Regions from separate parts of the Homo sapiens genome. Here all the other regions are linked to region 1. Evidence: promoter capture Hi-C in 16 types of primary human blood cells and fetal thymus (Javierre and others, 2016). All regions are on one chromosome and are shown on one strand. Each heading gives the region's core, a stretch centred on a gene start or on the middle of the fragment in contact. The rest is flanking DNA. Distances are from core to core; before and after follow the strand shown.

Region 1 (2,715 bases), core at 140-2,639:
CCTGTCCAGTTTCGTGGGGAGGGGAACTGCCGCACATGCCGCACACAAAAGGCGGAGGCTTTGACCAACATGCTGGGTGAGGGCTTGGAGGACCCAAAGGTGGCTCTTTCTTTGAAGACACACAGCAGCAATCTTAACCCTTAGAAGTGTCACAGAGCCTCATATGAGCTTTCAAGTAAGCTGTGGAAGTCGCGATTCCCAGGTAAGGGACGGGAAACTCCGGATGTCCTGCGAGCCCACACCCCAGATGGCACCGCCTGAAACCAGAATCCAGGTCCTCCACCCCCGATTGTTTCTCCTTCCTCTCATCTTACCAAGTCATGTGGGCGCCCCCACCCCCATCCCCGAGGCCTCAGTGCGACGGTGACCGCTCAGTCTTGGGGCCTGAGCTGCTGGAGACACACTGGAGCACAGCGGGGCCCAGCCCTCGGGCCTGTCTGAGGCTTTCCTCCGCCGTGACCACCGCCTCTCCAGGTGTACCAGCGTTGGTTAGGAACAGTAGGTGCTACTGGTCACAGTCACCAGATACTTCCCACGAGCCTCATCTTTATCCCCGACTCTGGCCGCCGGCGGGAAGCGGCGTGTCCGAGCGCACACCCCGTGGAGACTGACCCTAGGTCTGTTACTCCAAAGTCCCTGGTCTCTCCTTCCCCTTTCTCGCGGCCGCCTGCCTGGCACGGGACCCTGAGGCCGGAGCGGAGACCGCAAAACCCCTTGGGGCCGGCACCCCCTGCCTCCGCCTTGGCGCAGACGTGCCCATCTCTGGGACGGCCCCGAGCGCACGCAGCCGGCGGGCGACCCTCCTCCCAGAGACCTGCACGCTGCCCCCGGCTCCCAGCGTACCGCCACCCTCAACCCGACACACCCAAGTCCGCCCCAGCCACGCGCCAAGACGCTCACCTCCCGCAGCAGGCGCTCCAGGTGCGGCTCGGCCCAGGCGTCCAGGGCGCCTGGCGGCCCCGCGCGCCGCAGCAGCTCCCGCTCCTCCTCGAGCGCCGCCACCCGGCCCTGCAGCGCGGCCGCCTGGACACCCAGCAGCAGGCAGGCAGCCGCCGAGCCCACGGAGAGCAGCAGGCACAGCGCGCTCACCGCCCGGGACCCGGCCGTCGTCGCCGAGCGCCCTCCGCCGCCGCCGCCCGCCGCATTGCCCTTCCCCGCGTCGCCGCCGCCACCGGCGCGCTCGCCTGGGCCCATGGCGCGTTCGTCGCGCGTGGACTCTCCGAGGGGGCGGTGCTGCTGGGGCAGAGGCTGGGTGCGAGAGGAGCAGGCGGGACAGCCCGAGGCACGAGGTCCGCCGGGCGCGGGGGTTAGCCTCCGGGTAGCAGCGGATCGCCGCGCACGCCCCCTTCGCCGCAGCCAGCTCCTCCACAGCGGCCACTTTGGGCAGTTTCCTCTATGCAAATAGACCCTGCCAGAAAAGGAGCAGGGACCCACCCAGGGGAGGAGCGGCCGGGCTGGCCCCGCGCGGCGAGGGGGCGGGGGCGAGGAAGGAGCGAGCTCCTCGGAGCCACCCGTCGGCGCCGGGCTGATCCCACGCGCAGCGCGCACCTCTGCCCTCACCTAGCCCGGGCGCCGGCACCCGCCCCCGCACGCACCTCTGAGGCTTCCCCAGCCCAAGCCCGCACTGTGGACCCCAGAGGTCGGAGGGGAGCCCGGCGACACCGCGCCCCTTCTGCAGCCCACCCCTGGCTGGAGCACCCACCACTCGTGCCTTAGCACATTCCTCTAAACTTGTGAATTACCTTTCTGACACTTGTAAAAGTTCAAAACTTCAAATCCTGCAAAAAACTGAGTGGGTCTGTCCTCGGTGGTGGATTAGCGCCGCTTCGTGGCGGAAAGCGACCTCTGCGCACTCACATTTAGAGAGGCAGGGTCGAGATTGCGCCAAACAGAAATACGCCCCTTAGAATCTTCTCACGAGTTCTTAGCTGCCGGACTTCGGTGCGGGAAACAAAAATGGTAAGACTGTTTCTGGCCTGGAGAGGGCTTTTGAGAAAACTGAGACTATAACGAATGGGAAAGATTCAGAAAATGAACTTCAAGTCTTGTTCAACTGATGACTTAATTCTGTATTAGACGCACAACTTGGCCAAAAATTATGATCTAGTATGCACCACACTTAACCTGTACTGCGATTCTGCTGCAAATTTAAATCACAGGGCTGAGGCAAGAAGGCTGTGGCGTACAGCCTGGGTCCAGAGAACAGAATGAGTGGCACTAACAAGTCTTGGCAGGAAAGGGAAGAACTGCTGGAAGTCAGGCTGGGTTCAGATTCCTACCAGGCATATTCATGTCCTAAATGGGTCCCAAGTAACTCTTTCGCTAACTCCTGTAATACCTAAATGAAACAACAAACCAGCAGTTCAGATCTTTGTGATTTGAGTAACCCCCCAACCATTTTTTTTTAAGAAAAATAACGTTATATCCATCTTCCCTCTCACTCTGGATATCTTCTGGTTGTCTCATTTCTGTGGATACTCACCTTTTAGAACTGTTGAGTGCCTCTGGCTAACATGTTCCATCTCCTTCCCTTAATTCAGAGGGGAACCCCTGAGATGGCCGGGGGTTATGGTTGATAGACTTGGCTCTGTGCTAAAGTCTGGTGTATGCCCAATAGAATGAAAAGTTGGCCTCATTCTGAAAAGAGGCCAACACCCTCTTACAAGTCAGCACTACATTTCTTACAGGCACATAAACTGCACACCACCTACCTAT
Region 2 (2,715 bases), core at 83-2,582, 370 kb before region 1:
AGGAAGCAACTTGTTTCAAGAAGAAAATACCTTGATACCAAGTAGGCAGCCTCTTCAGTTGCTGGTGTCCTTGTGGCCTCATCTTTGATCAGATCCACACCAATGAAGAGCCCAACACCCCTGCAAGGGAAGGTGACGACATCTCAGGAGGCCAGGCCTGAGGGGCCAGGGTGCTGGCCTCAGCCTCTGGGCTCCTACCTGTGCCTCCTGAGGGGGCTGAGTGCAGGAGGCACCTTCAGAAGGTGGTGAGAATAGTTTCAGGGAATAACTGGGCTGGGAGAGATCTTTGGTGTGGACAGAGGAGAGAGGCTCAGGGGTAGCTAGGGATCAGGTCATGTCCTAGCTTTCTCCTCCCCAGGAGAGCCGTTTTGGGCAATAGCACCTCTCAGTGTCTCAGTTCCTCTTGAGAGCGGACATAACCCCACCATCCCAGGTTGTTAGGAGGTGAAGAAAATGGTACCACACTGGGCCTTGGCAGGTGGGTGGTGACTGCTGCCCCCAGAGCCTCACCTGACATCCCCGACGATGGGATGTTTGATTTTTTGCTGCCCGAGGAGCTGCATCAGGAAGCTGCCTACACTGGTGGCATGATCCTGGAGCTGCTCCTTCTCCAAGACATTCAGGACGGCCAGCCCCACAGCGCAGGACACTGGGCTGCCCCCAAACTGAGCCAGGGACAAAGAACATGTCAGATGCCCTGGCAGAGTGGGCCATGCCCCAGAGTGAGGGTGAGGCAGAAGAACTGCCACACGTGTTCCAAGGCCAGTGGCAAGAGCAGAGGCCCCAAACCCCTTAGGGCGCACAGTCCTCAGCAGTAGTAAGTGGGGTTCAACATGGGCTGTCCTGGCTTTCCAGGAGCTAATGTGACTGCAACTCAGGTCAGGTATCCCTGAAGTACAGTAGGAGCCCCTAGAAGATACAGAATCAGAGGAGAGGGTGTCCTGTTTGTTCCCACAGGGCTAGTCTTTACCAAGAGAGGCTTTAAGGCCCCATCTCCTGGGCCCAGACCCAGAGGACTGGATTAGGCACTTCCTCCTCCAGGGAGAGTGAGCGCAGCACGCCAAGCCCCACCCAGGAAAAGCTGCTTCACACCCCTGGAGGGCTCTGGCTCCTTTCCCTCGCCCACCCTGTCCTCATCCTGCAGGTATCTGAGTGGAGACCTGTGTTTTAGAGGATCACGAGCAAGGTGTCTCCTGCAAACCACGTTTTTTGTTTCGTTTTTAAACTACATCTTTAAAAACATCAGCTTTGTTGAGGTATAATTTATATATAAACTGTGTTTAAAGTATAAAGTTCAACGTGAGGTGACAAATGTATGTACCTGTGTAACCTCCCTCGCAGTGAAGTTGCAGAACATTTTCATCACTTCCTGTGCAACCGTCCCGCTACTACTGGACCCAGGCATCCACTGATCTGCTTTCTGTTACTATGAGATGGCTACAGGGGGCTTTGAAAGGCTGTGACGTACTCCTGGGAGTCTAGAAGGCCATTCATATGCATAGGGATGTGCTTATGCCCAGTGCTGTGTGCATGCTCAGGTAAGATCTAGAAAGCCCTAAGCTCTCACCACTGGCTACCTTGAGCCTCTGCAGAATGAGGAAGTAAAGTCTAAGGCAGTTATAAACTCTTGGCTGAGTGACTTACGGGTTCCAGGCAATTAAGGAGATCTAATGGTTAGAGGACCACTAAGCTAATCAAGCAGAGACTATAGTGGCCACACATGACAAAGAACACAACTTTACATAATTAGTTCAGAAAAGACATTAAACAAGAAAAAGGAACCACCATGGGGAGGGAGGAGAATATGATTTCCACAGTTGCCACATTATGTTACTTAAAATGTCCAGCTTTTAACAAAATTCTGAAACATGCAAAGAAGCATGGCCCAGACACGGGAGGAAAAAAAGCAATCAATGCAAACTGCGCCCGAGGAAGCTGACACTGACCTTACTGGATAAAGACTTTAAATCAGATGTTACAAACATGTTAGCTGGGTGCAGTGGCCCATGCCTGTAATCCCAGCACTTTGGGAGGCCAAGATGGGTGAGTTGCCTAAGGTGAGGAGTTCGAGACCAGCCTGGGCAGCATGGTGAAACCCCATCTCTACAAAAAATAAAAATAGCCAGGCGTGGTGGCACATGTGTGTACTCCCAGCTGCTTGCGGGGTGAGGCAGGAGGATCACTTGAGCTCCAGAGGCTGAAGCTGCAGTGAGCCAAGACTCCAGCCTGGGCAACAGAGTGAGACCCTGTATCCAAACAAGCAAACAGAAACAACCCCAAAACCAAATATGTTAAGAGACCTAAAGGAAACTATACTTAAAAAATTGAAAGCAAAGCATGAAAATGATGTCTTACCAAAACAGAGTCTAATGATAGATAAATTATTAAAAATCAATCAGAAAATTTGAAGTTGATAAGCACAATAAATGAAATGAAGCATTTACTAGAGAGGCTCAACAGATTTTTTTTTTTTTTTTGAGACAGTCTCGCTGTCACCCAGGATGGAGTGCAGTGGTGCGATCTCAGCAAACTGCAGCTGCCGCCTCCCAGGTTCAGGCGATTCTGGTGCTTCAGCCTCCCAACTAGCTGGGACTATAGGTGCATGCCACCACATCTGGCTAATTTTTGTATTTTTAGTAGAGACGGAGTTTCACTGTGTTGGCCAGGCTGGTCTTAAACCCGGGACCTCAAGTGATCCGCCCACCTCAGCCTCCC
Region 3 (2,715 bases), core at 155-2,654, 350 kb after region 1:
GAGAACTTCCAAAACTGCTGCTTGAAATAATTCCCCGCCCCATCACACCCTAACCCCTAACAGTAGTGTTATCACTACCAGATAAATACTTTCTACTTGTCTGACCCCTCCTCTAGTACAATTAAAACTCCATGAGTGCAGGGTTTTCACAGCTATTTCTCCAGCCCCTGGACTCGGGGTTCTTACTCTCTGGAGCCCAGTTTGAGTGACCTGGAGTCACGAGGGAGGCGAGAGAGAAGGGTTACCAGCGATACTCACACAACATCCTCCCCCTCTGGTGCTTTGCCGGGTCCCTGGGAACTGCTACAGGGGCTGCACAGCGGCTGACCCTGGCCTTGTCAAGCACTTGACACATAAGTGCTCCAAAGTGTCTATGGAATGAAATCTTCAATAAAACTCCAAACAGAATGCTGTAGTCACTGACACTGCTTCCTAAAACGTGGCCAACAATTCCGTATGTGACAAACAGGTCACATTCTTGATTTTTTTTAACGACCAACAAAGTTAAAACCCTCTCATCTTTCCTTCCTGAGCTCCATGCAAATTACCTATTCAAAAGCAACTAAGTATCTCCAGTTGGATATTCTTAGGCATCATCTCATCCTTGCCAGTCTCTGCAAAATATGGTCGACAAAAATAAATACCACCTTCTTAAATACCACCCAGCTGTCCAAGATGGAGACTTCCTGGCATCCAGGCGCCTTCCTCTCCCTCGTCCCCACCTCTGAGAAGTTCCCAAGCACGAAGTGTTCTGCGTCCCGAACATTCCAGGGGCCGCCAGCCACCATGGGCTCTGTCCTGAGGTGCCAAGCAGGACATCCCTGCCCGACATCCTTGTCCTCCCGCACCGCACACGCGTTAGTGGCTGTGGCGTCGCCACCCCAGCACACGCTGGCCCGCCCGCAGTGCCAGGCTGGAAGTGTCGGGCGCTTGCCAGGCCAAGGGGCAATTCTGTTGCCTTCCAGGCCTTTTCGGCGCGGTCCCAGTCAGGAACGCGCCCTGTCGCCTCCCACTCCGTCTTCCGGACCCTCCCGATCCTCTCTCGTCAGCGATCGGGCGTCGCTCCCCTGGACTAACCTCCCTTGCCCCATCTTCAGCTTTTCGCTGATCTGCATCTTCCTGCGCCTTAGTGCAAGGCAGAGACCTGGTTCTAAAGCGAACGGAACGGAACCGATTCTGTAAGTTGCAATGAGCGCGCTGAGGTCGGCGTGGAGGGGTCTCTGGGAAAGGTAGTTTCCGCGCCTAAAGCGCCGGGGCCGGGCCCTGTTCCCGCAGGCGCAAGGCAGCACTGTCTCCGCCGATTGTCCCTCTGGGAAGTGGAGTCTGGCCGGCGGAACTGCAGCAGCCCTGAGACTTGTGGGAATTCGGCCCAAGGGTTCCCAGGGCAACGCGCAAGCGCAGTTCGGCTCCCGGCTGCAGACTCCAGCTCATTGTGTTCTGACTGCGATGTGGCGCTTGCGATCTCTCGCCGCCGGCAGAGGCTCCTCGAAGAGCGACACGGGGCTGACCAGGCACGGTGGTCAAAGCCGCAGAGGGAGAGCGGGAGCGGTCGTGAGGTCGTCTGGGGAGAAGGGCGGAGGCAAAGCCGAGGAGGTGCGGGTTGTGGTCCATTCTGGAGGACGCTGATCGAATGCCCCAAACTTCCCGGAATGTATGTCTGAGATTTGATCCCAGAGAGGGAGGACGGCCAGGGGTGGTCATCCTGGGCTGAGGGTCGAGTCTGTGAGTGCCTGTGGAGGAGATGGAGCCAGGGCCTCTGGCATGTGTCTTGGAGCGGACTCCGAGAAGCCCAGGGTTTCCTCTCAGGTGATAGATACACGCCTGGCGTGGTTCCGAGTCCTGCGCCAGGAACTCGCCAAGGCCGGAGGCAGCCGCTGCGCAGCCCCTGCCACAGCCCCCGAGGGACCTGGCGAAGCGGCAGGGGCGGGACGGGGCTGTGTGTGATTAGGGTTCCTAACCCTTCCCTCTCCCCTCCCGCCCAGCTCACACAAACGCCGCTTCTGCCCACCCGTGACTCCAGGCCACCCAGACTGGGCCCCAGAGAGTGAGAACACTGAGGCCAGAGAAGGGTTTGCCTGAGAGGCTTCGACAGTGAAGAGCCTTCTTAGCCTCCTTTCTGAGGAGGAAGAAGACCACCCTCCTTTTCCTCTTCTCCTGTCACTGCCAGATAAGGCAGCTGTTCCAAAGCCGCAGAGGGAGAGCGGAGCGGTCTTCCAATCCAGTCGAACCCAGACACTGCCCTCCGTTGCCTCTCCCCAGCGCTCCCACCTTTTCGGGTACATCCTGGTGGGTTCTGGAGCTGAATAACTTGTTAAAGAGATAATTCTCGGCCGAGTGCGGCGGCTCACGCCTGTAATCCCAGTACTTTGGGAGGCCGAGGCGAGCCGATCACCTGAGGTCCGGAGTTCGAGACCAGTCCGACCAACATGGTGAAATCCCGGTCTCTACTAAAAATATAAAAAATTAGCCGGGCGTGGTGGCGGGTGCGTGTAATCCCAGCTACTCCGGAGACTGGGGCGGGAGAATCGCTTGAACCCGGAAGGCGGAGGTTGCAGTGAGCCAAGATCGTGCCACTGCACTCCAGCCTAGGTGACAGAGCGAGACTCTGTCTCAAACAAACAAACAAAAAAAGAATTCTCTTGAGATCGCTCAGTGAGGCTGAAGGGAAAGACCAGAGGGTGGGTGGAAGGCATGAGAACTGGACCTGGAGCAGGC
Region 4 (2,715 bases), core at 55-2,554, 330 kb before region 1:
TATCATTCAGTGCTAGAAAGGAATGAGCTGTCAAGCCATGAAAAGACATGGATGAAAGGTCAATGTGTATTACTAAGTGAAAGGAGCCAATCTGAAAAGGCCACACACTGTCTGATTCCAACTAGATGACACTCTGGGAAAGGCAAAACTATGGAGACAGTGAAAAGAGATCAGTGGTGGCCGGGCACGGTGGCTCATGCCTGTAATCCTAGCACTTTGGGAGGCTGAGGTGGGTGGATCACCTGAGGTCAGAAGTTCGAGGCCAGCCTGACCAACATGGTGAAACCCCATCTCTACTAAAAATACAAAATTAGCCAGGTGTGGTGGCGCACGCCTGTAATCCCAGGTACTTGAGAGGCTGAAGCAGAAGAATCACTTGAAACCAGGAGGCAGAGGTTGCAGTGGGCTGAGATTGTGCCATTGCACTCCAGCCTGGGCGACAAGAGCAAGACTCCATCTCAAAAAAAAAGATAAAAGATCAGTGGTGTCAGGGGCTAGGGAGAACGAGGGATGAACAGGCGGAGAACAGAGCATGTTTAGGGCAGGGTAAATACTCCATGACACCACAGTGGTGGATACTTGTCAACACACACTTGTCCGAATCCAGAGTGTACCACAGCAAGAGTGAACCCTAATGTAAACGACGGCATCTGGGTGATGGTGGTCTGTCCACACAGGTGGGTCATCTGTAGCAAGTGGGGGATGTCCACAGCGGGGGAGGGGGATATGGAAATTCTGTACTTTCTGTTTAGTTTTGTTGTGAAACAAAAACTGTTCTAAAAATAAAATCTATTTGGGCCAGGTACAGTGGCTTACACCTGTAATCCCAGCACTTTGGGAGGCTGAGGTGGGAGGATAACCTGAGGTCAGGAGTTCGAGACTAGCCTGGCCAACATGGTGAAACCCCATTTCTCCTAAAAATACAAAAAATTAGCTGGGCATGGTGGCACACACCTGTTGTCCCAGCTACTCAGGAGGCTGAGGCAGGAGAATTGTTTGAACCCAGGAGGTGGAGGCTGCAGTGAGCTGTGATCGTGCCACTGCATTCCAGCCTAGGCGACAGTGAGACTCTGCCTCAAAAGAATAGAAAATTAAAAAAAAAAAGGAAAATCTATTTGAAACCAAAAGGCTAATGTGTTTTATGATTCAACCCTCGCAACTCAGTGTGAAAAAGGCAGGAAAGGTTTACTGTGCCTCCATTTAACAGATGACTAAACTGAGGCCCAGAGAGATGCAGTAACTTGCCCATGGTCCAGGAATTTGATCTCCTGACCCTGCTGCCTTGGCTTCACTAGGGGTGGGGGGAAGAGACAGGAAGTGGAGGTGGTGGTGGGGGAGTCCATCCCACCAGATCTGGGGAGGGGCATGGGGAATAAGGAGTACTCACCTTGGGCCCTGGGGGTCCCTTTGGGCCCTGGAACAAGAGAAGAGAAGGTGTTAAATGTCATACTGGAGGCTGCTCCTGGGCCTGTCCTTCTTAGCATCCTGGCTTTGTAAAAGGTGACACCAATCCCAGAGAGCAGGAGGCTGGGCTGCCGTCAGAAGCAGGCTGGAGCTGCCCACCCTGGGCCTGACTCCTCAAGCCTGGGACAGCTTCTGCATTAGGGCTCAGGTGGTGGCAAGTGGACCGCAGCCTCCGCACAGGAATGTGGAGCTACTGGAATCCCCCTGGCTGGTGCCTCACCCAGCCATTTCCCCAGGGTGGCTGGAGGGGCAGGTGCACAGGGGTCCACACACATGCAGACACGTACATGCAGAGGCGCGCGCACACACATAAACATGTGCGCGTGACCCTGCTGTCGGCGTGTGTGGGAAAGGGGCTTCCAGGTCTGGGAACCATGATCCTAGCAGCCCAGGCCTCTGGAATGCCCTGGATACTGACCATCTCGCCGTCTTGTCCGGGCTCTCCTTTGGGGCCCTGCGGAAGTGTGAGGGGACAGCAGTGAAGGATGCAGGATGTCACATTGAACTGAGCCCAAATCTCAGGCCAGACCCCGGGCTGGGGCTCTAAGTACATTATCTTATCTCATTCTCGCCAAACCTGAAGAGCGAGTATCACTGTCCCCACTCCACAGATGAGAATGTTAGGCTGGGGAAGCCACTGGCCCGGTGTGACAAGTAATGGATGAGCCAACTGAGCAGCTGTCCTGGGGGAATCTGGCAGCAGTTTGGTGGGGATCCATTTGACTGGGGGGGGACCCTGGTGGCAGTCTGGTGGTGGCATGGGCTCCACAATGAAGGGAAGGACAGGCTGGGGATTCTGGGTTAGGGAAAGGGGTAGTAGGATGGGGCCTGGCCTCTAGACTTTGGAGACCCTGGGAGGAAAGCTGAGGCTGAGATACTATTGGGGAGCATGAGGGGAGGGGCTGATAAAGGTCTGCAGAGACAGTGTCCCCAGAAGGGTCTCAGGCTCAGGGTTGAGTCAGGATTGGGACTGGGATTGCAACTAAGGTCAGCTTAGGGTCTCTGGGTCTGTTTGAAGTTAGAGTTGGGTTGGGAGTCAGGGTCAGAGTCTGTAAGGTTCAGAGTTAGGGTCTGAATTGGGGGCGTAGACCAGGATTTGGGAATGAGTTAGAGGTCAAGGTCTTGATTGGGATCAGAGACCCAGTTAGTGTTAGATTTAAGGTTCGAATGGGATTAAGGGTCTGGGTTGAAGTTAGGGTTGGGTTTGGGTCTGGGGTCAGGGTCAGGATCTGAATTGGGGCTGGATCTTGG
Region 5 (2,715 bases), core at 120-2,619, 300 kb before region 1:
CAGAGGAAACAATGGAGAAGAGGGGGAGGAAACCACTCATCTACACCCCACCCTCTCCCCTCTGGACCTGTGAATACAGAGTAACCCGGGGTGAAGGGAACTGCGTCATGCCAGGAGTGGTTCTGTTAGTCTCCGGTCCTCCCGAGCCGGTACTGGTACAGCGAATAATGCCAAGATGCGGGGCTGAACTTTCCAGCGAAAGCCTGTGCTTCCCCAAGATGCTGGACGCCCAAAGGTCCGGGCTGCCGTGTGCAGGAGACGGGAGCCTGACCCTTGCCTAATCAGAAGAGCAGCTGGGGACTGCGGCAGGGCCCTAACCCCAGGTGTGCCATGGGATGAGGGTGGGTCCCAGCTGGTTTTCACATTTCATTCTTACTTCCGCAGAGTCTGAGAGGCCAGGCTGCTCATTGCTGGGGGAGCTGCCCGGACTGCCTGGGAGATCCCAAACTTGACTCAGCCCAGCACGGGGCCACTCCAGCATGAAGTCAATGTTCCCCAGAGTTACCACCAAGTCCTGGAGGGCTGGGTTTGTGACACATCATGTGCCTTCATCTCTGCATTCACAGAGCAGGAAATTGAAGCTCAGCGAAGGTGAGCACCTTCTCTTAAGGTCACTCAGCCGAGAGGAAGCAGAGTGGACCCCACGTCAAGTCTCCCTGGTGCTGGGGCTGGCCTCCTCTCCTCCGCTGCAGGACCGGGGACCACCGCTCTCTATCACCAGCCGTCCTGACTGCACAGATCTGTCCCGAATCAGCCAGCATTTCCCTCCCTGCATCTTCCTGCCCTGGAGGCACAAAATGAATCTGCCCCTCCCCTGACGGCCCTGCCAATCTCTTCTGCTGCTGGGCTCCCCCTACTCTTTCTGACATCCCAGGACCTCCGGATGCTGCTGCCACGACCCTCAACCCCCGCACAGGACCTGACAGCGGCACAGCCACGCTGCGTCTTGCTGCTGACGTGGTGCTCACTTGGCCGGGGCTAGGACATCTATCCCAGGAATGCGCTAGCTTTTGGGTTAATTTTAAGAGATCTGCCAAGGGATGACACCACAGCCAAACTGGAACCAGCCAGTCTCCTGTTATCGAGTGATGACGAGGAGCGGTGGCTGGGACAGGGAGTCCTCTGCCCACTGGGAAGAGGCCCAGCCCTCCAGTGGAGCACGCCACAGTGCGGGGGCTGGACTGTTGGCTCTTGGCTGGACTTACTGAAGAAGCAGTGGCAGGTGGATTCAGTGCCACCCAGACACCTGCTCGAGGTGCTCTGCCTTGCCTCCAGGGCAGCCCTGGAGATCTGTGCAGCCTTTACCTCCCCAGAGCTCACGCTAATCGCCTCCACAGAAAGACCACGGCTGCTGAGGAGCAGAAGAGACAGGAGCGCAGACAGAGTTAAATCAAGGCTCAGGGAAAGAATATTGGTTTAAGAGAAAAGGGTGAAGAGAGCAAAAAAATAAATGACAAATTACCGGGTAGCCATCTCGTCCTGATTGCCCCTGTGGTAATTAATATGTCATTAATAATCAGAGTTTCGGCAGAAACCATATGGCAACACTTAGAGCTCAATCAGGGCCCAGACCCACACCCGCCCCCCGACAGCTGGTTGGTGACTTCCTCTGCAGCGGGAGGACTCAAGGGCTCCAGGGGTCTTGGGGGCAGAGCAGCCCTTTCCTGCCTCAGAGGGCCAGGCTGGAGGGACCAAGAGCCTCAGGGCTTCATCGGGGCTCCGGGCACAGTCACATGTGTGCCCTCCCCACGCTGGCCAGGCATAGGGTAAATGCCACGTGGGGACGTGGGGTTCTGGAGGGTGCAGCCACAACCACACGACCAACCAGGAACTGAAAATGCTCCTTAAACTAGGCCTGGAAGAGAGCCTGTTTCCTCTCAGTTGCCACTGGGATGGGGTGAACCAAGAAAGAGAGCCTTAGAAGCCAGGAATATCGGGGGGCGTTCACTGTGGCTGCATGCTTCTCTGCCCCCTAGTTCCAGACCCTGGAGCAGTGACCACCCTGCCTGTGTTCCACACTTGGGCACCCATCTCCCAGGTCAGACCCTTCCAGGTTGCAGCTTGAGAATTTCTGCATTTGTTTAATTCATTTACTATTTTAACTGCCAAGTTAAAAAAGAAACAAAAAAAACACTCTATAGCCCCCGGCGTTAGGTACTTCAGCAAGTTCACACACGCTAGCCTCCCTGAGACAGCCAGGAAGAACTCAGCTGCCAAACATCGCTTGAAGCCAATAAATCAACACAATCCTGCTGTCTTGCTTGGCTCACGGTGGGGCTGCATGCACCGAGAAGCCCAGATTCCGAAGGGCACTGATCGGGAAACCAATCATGGTACACGGAAGTAAAAAATAAAAGGGCTCATCTGAAAGGAATTCCTTGAGAAGGCTGATTTTGGCTCTGACTGTCAATGTGCTTCTTGAGTGGATTAACTGGGATTTACCGGGCTCTGAAAAACTGACAGCATGAATCAAAGGCAGGCACATCCTTTGCCCTGGAGAATGAATGGGATTTCTAGGACCACTTGCAATCCCCTGCATTCAAACCTGCCTCTGGCCGGCCAGGAGAAGTTCAAGGGAGCTGCCCAGTGCTTCCCTCATACCCTTCACACCCCTCACAAATGCAGTGACATTTTCCTCCTGCTCCAGTGCCATGCCCTCACCAGCCAGGTGTGCTCACAAGGTCTCAGCTGTCTGATCCACATTCTGGCAAAGAA

Evidence for each region. The method cuts DNA at HindIII sites, captures the fragments that hold promoters and counts their contacts. A CHiCAGO score of 5 or more calls a contact.
Region 2: a contact is called between a fragment that was not itself captured here and the fragment with the promoter of COL23A1 in region 1, in 1 of 17 cell types (M0 macrophages). The highest score is 5.2, in M0 macrophages.
Region 3: the fragment with the promoter of ZNF454 here is called in contact with the fragment with the promoter of COL23A1 in region 1 in 4 of 17 cell types (monocytes, endothelial precursors, erythroblasts and 1 more); the score reaches 5.8 in monocytes.
Region 4: a contact is called between a fragment that was not itself captured here and the fragment with the promoter of COL23A1 in region 1, in 10 of 17 cell types (M0 macrophages, M1 macrophages, M2 macrophages and 7 more). The highest score is 22.2, in M0 macrophages.
Region 5: a contact is called between a fragment that was not itself captured here and the fragment with the promoter of COL23A1 in region 1, in 15 of 17 cell types (M2 macrophages, M0 macrophages, erythroblasts and 12 more). The highest score is 79.5, in M2 macrophages.

What each region holds. Positions count from the first base shown.
Region 1 is chr5:178,589,004-178,591,718 of GRCh38, forward strand. It overlaps COL23A1 (collagen type XXIII alpha 1 chain), which reads right to left and starts at 1,390. Exons shown (of 29, transcript NM_173465.4): 1 at 901-1,390. The coding sequence starts at 1,194. RefSeq lists an enhancer at 1-736 and a silencer at 1,392-1,591. The HindIII fragment of the contact is 4,652 bases long and covers 1-2,715 here.
Region 2 is chr5:178,214,766-178,217,480 of GRCh38, forward strand. PHYKPL (5-phosphohydroxy-L-lysine phospho-lyase) reads right to left here. Exons shown (of 13, transcript NM_153373.4): 9 at 511-665; 10 at 31-120. Among named protein-coding and RNA genes, the nearest start is that of HNRNPAB, 12 kb to the left of the region's middle. The HindIII fragment of the contact is 9,930 bases long and covers 1-2,715 here.
Region 3 is chr5:178,939,794-178,942,508 of GRCh38, forward strand. ZNF454 (zinc finger protein 454) reads left to right here and starts at 1,405. Exons shown (of 5, transcript NM_001178089.3): 1 at 1,405-1,651. It overlaps ZNF454-DT (ZNF454 divergent transcript), which reads right to left and starts at 1,222. Exons shown (of 1, transcript NR_186409.1): 1 at 1-1,222. The HindIII fragment of the contact is 10,957 bases long and covers 1-2,715 here.
Region 4 is chr5:178,260,335-178,263,049 of GRCh38, forward strand. It overlaps COL23A1 (collagen type XXIII alpha 1 chain), which reads right to left. Exons shown (of 29, transcript NM_173465.4): 10 at 1,883-1,918; 11 at 1,388-1,414. Among named protein-coding and RNA genes, the nearest start is that of PHYKPL, 29 kb to the left of the region's middle. The HindIII fragment of the contact is 4,641 bases long and covers 1-2,715 here.
Region 5 is chr5:178,286,862-178,289,576 of GRCh38, forward strand. COL23A1 (collagen type XXIII alpha 1 chain) reads right to left here. Exons shown (of 29, transcript NM_173465.4): 5 at 1,463-1,489. Among named protein-coding and RNA genes, the nearest start is that of PHYKPL, 55 kb to the left of the region's middle. RefSeq lists enhancers at 1-320, 321-865. The HindIII fragment of the contact is 9,200 bases long and covers 1-2,715 here.